Regions from separate parts of the Homo sapiens genome. Here region 2 is linked to region 1. Evidence: promoter capture Hi-C in human tissues and cell types (Jung and others, 2019). All regions are on one chromosome and are shown on one strand. The core of a region is centred on a gene start or on the middle of the fragment in contact, and the rest is flanking DNA. Distances in the headings are between cores, read along the strand shown. Region 1 holds the start of STAP2 (signal transducing adaptor family member 2). Region 2 overlaps UBXN6 (UBX domain protein 6).

Region 1 (3,452 bases), core at 461-2,960:
GGCTGTGGTAGGCAGAATAATGGTCTCTTAAAGATATCCACGCCCTAATTCCCAGAATCTGTGAATACGTTAGGATACGTGGCAAAGGGATTTGAAGATTAAAGATAGACGCCAGGCACAGTGGCACACACCTGTAACCCCAGCACTTTGGGAGGCCTAGACTGGAGGATCACTTGCACCCAGGAGTTCAAGACTAGCCTGAGGGCCGGGCACGGTGGCTTATGCCTGTAATCCCAGCACTTTGGGAGGTCGAGGCAGGTGGATCACAAGGTCAGGAGATTAAGACCATCCTGGCTAACACAGTGAAACTCCATCTCTACTAAAATAAAAATACAAACAAATTAGCTGGGCATGGTGGCACGTGCCTATAATCCCAGCTACTCGGGAGGCTGAGGCAGGAGAATTGCTTGAACCTGGGAGGCAGAGGTTGCAGTAAGCCGAGATCGCTCCACTGCACTCCAGCCTGGGTGACAGAGTAAGACTCTGTCTCAAAAAAAAAAAAAAAAAAAGACCAGCCTGGGCAACATAGCAAGAACCTGTCTCTAGTAAGTGTAAAAATTAGCTGGGCGTGGTGGCAGGCACCTGTAATCCCAGCTACTTGGGAGGCTGAGCCAGGCGAATGGCATGAACCTGGGAGGCGGAGCTTGCAGTGAGCCGAGATCACGCCACTGCACTCCAGCCTGGGCTACAGAGCGAGAGTCTGTCTCAAAAAAAAGAAAAAAAAAAATTAGCCAGGTGTGGTGGCATGCAACTGTAGTACCACCTACTCTGGAGGCTGAGGCTGGAGGATCACTTGAGCCTGTAAGGTCGAGGCTACAGTGAGTCATGATCGCCCCACTGTACTCCAGCCTAGGCAACATAGTGAGAACTCATCCTTAAAAAAGGAAAATAAATTAGCTGGGTGTGGTGGTGCCCACCTATAGTCCCAGCTCTTCGGGTGGCTGAGGCAGGAGGACCGCTTGAGATTGGGAGGTCAGGGCTGCAGTGAACTATGATCGTGCCACTGCACTCCAGCATCGACAACAGAATGAGACACCGTCTAAAAAAGAAAAATTGCAGATGAAATTAAAGTTGCTAGTCAGCTGACTTTAAAATAGGGAGAGTAGCGTGGATTATCCAGGTGGGCCCAATGTAATCATTAGGGTCCATCAAAGTAAGAGAAAGGGCCAGGTGTGGTGGCTCATGCCTGTAATCTCAGCACTTTGGGAGGCTGAGGCGGGCAGAAAACTTGGGGTCAGGAGTTCGAGACCAGCCTGGGCCAACATGGGGAAACCTCGTCTCTACTACAAATACAAAAATTAGCCAGGCGTGGTGGCGGTCACCTGCAATCCACGCTAGTCAGGAGACTGAGCTTGGACTCAGTCTCTGAACCCGGGAGGCAGCGCAGTCTCTTGAACCCGGGAGGCAGAGGTCGCAGTGAGCCAAGATCATACCACTTTACTCCAGCCTGGGCAACAGAGTGAAACTCTGTCTCAAAATAGGAAAAATAGATAAATAAATAAATAAAGAGACAGACCATGTCTCTGTCTTTGCAGATATAGCGAAGATTATTCTCCCATTCAAGTAGACTTATACATTCTCTCTGTTCTCAGTTCCACACCGGAGAGGCGGGGATTTCCCTAGGATCACTGGACCTGCTGGGATCAGCCTCTGCCCAGCCCTGGCAGGGGAGGGAGTTGACGGGCTGACACAGGAAACTCCCCTGAAACCTGTTTCTCAGCTTCCCGGCCCAGCTGGGGCACCCACTGGAAGGAGAGGCCAGGCGGAAGACCCTGGCTCCGTCATGGCCTCTGCCCTGAGGCCACCCCGTGTCCCCAAGCCTAAGGGTGTCCTGCCTTCACACTACTATGAGAGCTTTCTAGAGAAGAAGGGGCCCTGTGACCGGGTAAGGTGGGGAGGCGGGGGCTGGCCCTGCTGGGCCACCGTGGGGAGCTGCGGCACCTCTCTGAGTCCCTGTCTCCCCACTCGCCAAGGGGGGGCGGGGTGGGTGCTGGATGGGGCAGGACACGTGCTGGGGGACTGGGGTGGGTTCTGGCCATCTGCCTCTCTGTGCGTCTATCTCTGTCTCCGTGTGTCTTTGAATTTGGTTTCTTTTTCTCTTTCTCTCTCCCTGGCCCCGTCTGTCTCTCCCGATGTCTGTCTCAGTCTCCCTCTCTCTTTGTCTCAATCTTTGCTTTTGTCTCTCGTTCACTCTCTTGAATACAAACAAGATCAGGGACTTCCTCCAGGAAATGGGGAGTCCTCTGACTCCCGAGCTTCCTCCCGCTCCCAGCCCAGGAAAAACTCCGTGAACCTCAGCTGCTGGGGCGAAGGCCAGGACAGGTGACATGTGAGGACAGTAAGAGCTAGCGGGGGCCACATTCCACAGGACAGATAGTTGCCATGGACAGTGCGTGCATGTGTGTGTGTGTGTGTGCTTATGTCTCCCTCAGAATAAAGTCCCAGCCCCTCCGTTCCCCGTGAGGCCCTATCTCTCCTTCCCAATGCCGCATATTCATTTTCTTTCTTTCTTTTTGTTAGAGACAGAGTTGCTCTGTCACCCAGGCTAGAGTGCAGGGGCACGATCATGGCTCACTGTAGCCTCAAACTCCTGGGCTCAAGTGAACCTCCCGCCCCAGCCTCCTGAGTAGCTGGGACCACAGGCATGCACTGCCTCTTCTGGCTTTTATTTTATTTATTTATTTTTGAGACTGAGTCTCACTCTGTCACCCAGGCTGCAGTGCAGTGGCACCATCTCGGCTCACTGCAACCTCCACCTCCCAGGTTCAAACGATTAAGCGATTCTCGTGCCTCAGCCTCCCGAGTAGCTGGGATTACAGGTACGCACCACCACACCTAATTTTTGTATTTTTAGTAAAGACAGTGTTTCATTTTGTTGGCCCGGCTGGTCTTGAACTCTTGACCTCAGGTGATCCACCTGTCTCGGCCTCTCTAAATGCTGGGATTACAGGCATGAGCCACCGCACCCAGCCTTTTTTTTTTTTTTTTGAAGATGGGGTCTTGCTGGCCAGGCGCAGTGGGTCACACCTGTAATCCCAGCACTTAGGGAGGCTGAGGCAGGTGGATCACCTGAAGTCAGGAGTTTGAGACCAGCCTGGCCAATATGGTGAAACCCCGTCTCTACTAAAAATACAAAGATTAGCCGGGCGTGGTGGTGCGTGCCTGTGATCCCAGCTACTCTGGAGGCTGAGGCAGGAGAATCACTTGAACCTGGGAGGCAGAGGTTGCAGTGAGCCAAGATCGTGCCACTGCACTCCAGCCTGGGCAACAGAGCAAGACTCCGTCTCAAAAAAAAAAAAAAGATGGGGTCTTGCTATGTTGCCCAGGCTGGTCTCAAACTCCTGGCCTTAAGTGATCCTCCTGTCTCAGCCTCCCAAACTGCTGGGATTAGAGGTGTGAGCCACCATGACTGCCTCATTTTCTAATACAGATCAAAACAAACACCCCCAGCT
Region 2 (3,452 bases), core at 444-2,943, 110 kb before region 1:
AATAGCTGGGCATGGTGGCGTGCACCTGCAGTCCCTGCTACTCAGAAGGCTGAGGTGGGAGGATTGCTTCAGCCTGGGAGGTAGAGGCTGCAGTGAGCTGTAATCATGCCACTGCACACCAGCCTGGGTGACAAGTGAGACCCTTTCTCAGAAAATAGTAAGTGGCTGGGCGCGGTGGCTCTTGCCTGTAATTCCAGTGCTTTGGGAGGCTGAGGCAGGTGGATCACCTGAGGTCAGAAGTTCCAAGACCAGCCTGGTCAACATAGTGAAACCCCCTATCTACTAAATATACAAAAATTAGCCAGGCGTGGTGACAGGCGCCTGTAATCCCAGCTACTCAGGAGACTGAGGCAGGAGAATCGCTTGAACCTGGGAGGTGGAGGTTGCAGTGAGCCCAGATCACGCCATTGAGCTCCAGCGTGGACACTGGGTGACAAGAGCGAAACTTCATCTTAAAAACAAAACAAAACAAAATAGTAATAGTTCCATAGACTCTCCAGACTCACACCCACTCCAGCAGTGTGTGCAAAAGCACCCGTGTCCCCATCCTCTCACCATACTGTAAATCACCAAACTTTGATCTTTACGCCTGTTGGTAGGTGAAAATAACATCTCAGGATAGAGTTAATTTGCACTTTCCTTATTTTGGATTGGCCATGTTTCATATGAGAATGCGTCCTTTCTACATTATTTAGTAGATAGTTTGTCTTTTTATTAGTGATTTGTAGGCACTCTTTTTTTTTTTTTTTTTTTTTTTTTTTTGAGACAGAGTCTCGCTCTGTCGCCCAGGCTGGAGTGCAGTGGCGCCATCTCTGCTCACTGCAAGCTCCGCCTACGAGGTTCACACCATTCTCCTGCCTCAGCCTCCCGAGTAGCTGGGACCACAGGCGAACCGCCACCACGCCCAGCTGATTCTTTGTATTTTTAGTAGAGACGGGGTTTCACCATGTTAGCCAGGATGGTCTCGATCTCCTGACCTCGTGATCCGCCCGCCTCGGCCTCCCAAAGTGCTGGGATTACAGGCGGGAGCCACCGTGCCCGGCAGCACTCTTTACATATTAGGCAATTTAGGCTTTTGCCTATGATATGAGTTGCACATGTTTCCCTCTAGTTGCTTCTATGTTGGCTCTGCTTATGGTCACTTTGCTGTGTAGGATTTTTTGATCTCTGTATAATTAAATGTGTCAGTTTTAGTTCATGGCTTTTGGGTTTGGGGTCATTCTTAGAAATGCCTTCCCCATTTCCATGCTGAGAGAATTCTTTTGTGGCCTCTCCAGTGCTTTTTTTTTTTTTTTTTTTGAGACAGAGTCTTGCTGTCACCAGGCTGGAGTGCAGTGGTGCAATCTCAGCTCACTGCAACCTCTGCTTCCCGGGTTCAAGCAATTCACCTGCCTCAGCCTCCCAAGTAGCTGGGACTACAGGTGCACGCCACCACACCCGGGCTAACTTTTGTATTTTAGAGATGAGGTTTCACCATGTTGGCCGGGATGGTCTCGCTCTCCTAATCTCGTGATCCGACCGCCTCGGCCTCCCAAAGTGCTGGGATTCCAGGCATGAGCCACCGTGCCCGGCCTCCAGAGCTTTTCTTCTGGCTTCTCCTTGACTGCTTGCTTGTTTCCATGGTTGAAGCTTTGATCCAGCTGGAGCATGTTATTATGTAACATGGTGGGATGGAGCTGATGTAATTTTTTTTTTAGATCTTGGCTCAGCTTTCTTCTCAGCCCCACCTGTCGAGAGCACCTGTCTTTTGCTTACAGCTGTGAAATCCCACCTTTCTCACAAAGTACATTCCTGTATGGATTTGGACCCCTTCCTGGCTGCTGTTCCTTCGTCCCTTGTCTGTGCATGTACCCAGCTCCTGACCTAAGCCTGGCAGCCAGTCGCCCAAAACGCCCGAGGCCCGCTTTTGGAGCTGACACGCTTCCCTTGGCTGGTGTGCTGTCCCGGGCGCTCTGATCCCAAGGAAGCTGTTGTCTTGGGGACATGCCCATCTGGCAGCTCTGCCTCTCTGCATCCACGTGCTCTGTCCCGCTCCCCACATCATCTCAGCAACTAAACCGGCAGACTGGGCCGGGTCCCAATTTTCAGTTGGCATGAGCCCCGGCTCAGTGTGTAGGTCATTGGTCCGTGTGACGCAGGGGGCTGCTGAGGGACCCTGCTGTGCAGTTGAGGGTGGGGGGTGGTGGGTGGAGCTCTGGGCTGCCTGGGCAGGTGGCCCGAATCCTGACACATGGCCCTGGGCTGCCCTTCTGTTCACCCGCCCTCGTCTGGGCAGCCCAGGGAGGTGCGGGTGGCAGCCCTGCTTCCCAGGCCATGGGTGGCTCTCTGGGTGTGGCCGTGTGTGATGGCTGTGCCGAGCGTGGATTTGTGCCCCAATCTTTTCCAGGTCTTAGGGTACGTACTGTTCTCAGCCTCTCCATGCTGGGACGCTGTTCGCAGTCAGCAGGGCTGGTTCTGGGAAACCCCCAGAGTTCCAGCTATGACTTCTCCCCTCCCCCGGTAACATAGGTGGATAGGTGGGACCTCGGGGAGGGGCAGGGGCTGGGGGTATCCGTCTTCCAGCTATTGAGTTTCAGACATTGAGGGTTGCAGACTCATTTGTGTCCTCTCTGCCACCTGCCATCCCTGTGACCCTGGACGATGGGCCTCTCGGTCTCTTTGTAAACATGAGGCCCGGGAGTGGTTCCAGAACGTCCATCATGGGGCTGCGAGAGCAGGAGGGATGGGGCGTCCATGGTGGCGGGAGGTTCTGTAAGTGGCGGTGGCCTTGATGGATCTCAGCACTGAGGTCGAGTTCTAAAGCCAGAGTGTGAGGCACAGTTCTGTCGCGTCACACTGGCTTCCAAGTCCCATGGATCTAGCCTTGAGAAGGCGGAAGGGGAGACTTGAGTTCTGCTGGGTCTTGGCTGCGTCGCCTCTGCCCTGGGGCGTGGGCAGGGCTGCGGTCTTGGAGGGTCTCTCTTTTCCTTTCTGTGATGAGCGCACAGCTGGGGCCGCTCCAAGCCGCTGTTCTGCCTTCCTTTTCCTGCCCCTGTTACCTGGGCAGCGGAGGGCCGTGCGGCCCGGGCTCTCAGTGAGTGGCTTTCCCTGCTTCCCTCCTCCCAGCACTTCTCCACCGACCCAGTGGCCGCCTCCATCATGAAGATCTACACGTTCAACAAAGACCAGGACCGGGTGAAGCTGGGTGTGGACACCATTGCCAAGTGAGCGTGTGGCCCCTTTGCCCTGCCTGGCCCCTCCAGCTCATCCCAGCACCCCTCCCACTGGGGCTGTCACCCCCTCTGGCCCCCTCATTACCTGCTGAGGTGGGTTGGGAAGGAGCATAGGCCGAGAGTGAGGCAGCTCCACCCAGAGGCCTCAGGCAAAGGGCTGGGCCTCCTTGGGCCTCAGTTTACCCGTGTGCAAAATGAAGGTGTTGAAGGAATCAGGGGTTTCCCACCCTGGCTTCCTTG

Evidence for each region. The method cuts DNA at HindIII sites, captures the fragments that hold promoters and counts their contacts. A contact is called where the count stands out against the background at its distance.
Region 2: a fragment that was not itself captured here is called in contact with the fragment with the promoter of STAP2 in region 1 in 2 of the 25 tissues and cell types used here (dorsolateral prefrontal cortex and lymphoblastoid cells).

The regions. Positions count from the first base shown.
Region 1 is chr19:4,337,085-4,340,536 of GRCh38, reverse strand. STAP2 (signal transducing adaptor family member 2) reads left to right here and starts at 1,710. Exons shown (of 13, transcript NM_001013841.2): 1 at 1,710-1,885. The coding sequence starts at 1,784. The HindIII fragment of the contact is 19,957 bases long and covers 1-3,452 here.
Region 2 is chr19:4,448,069-4,451,520 of GRCh38, reverse strand. It overlaps UBXN6 (UBX domain protein 6), which reads left to right. Exons shown (of 11, transcript NM_025241.3): 5 at 3,106-3,203. It also overlaps a transcript of CHAF1A not described here. Among named protein-coding and RNA genes, the nearest start is that of MIR4746, 3.8 kb to the right of the region's middle. The HindIII fragment of the contact is 5,827 bases long and covers 1-3,452 here.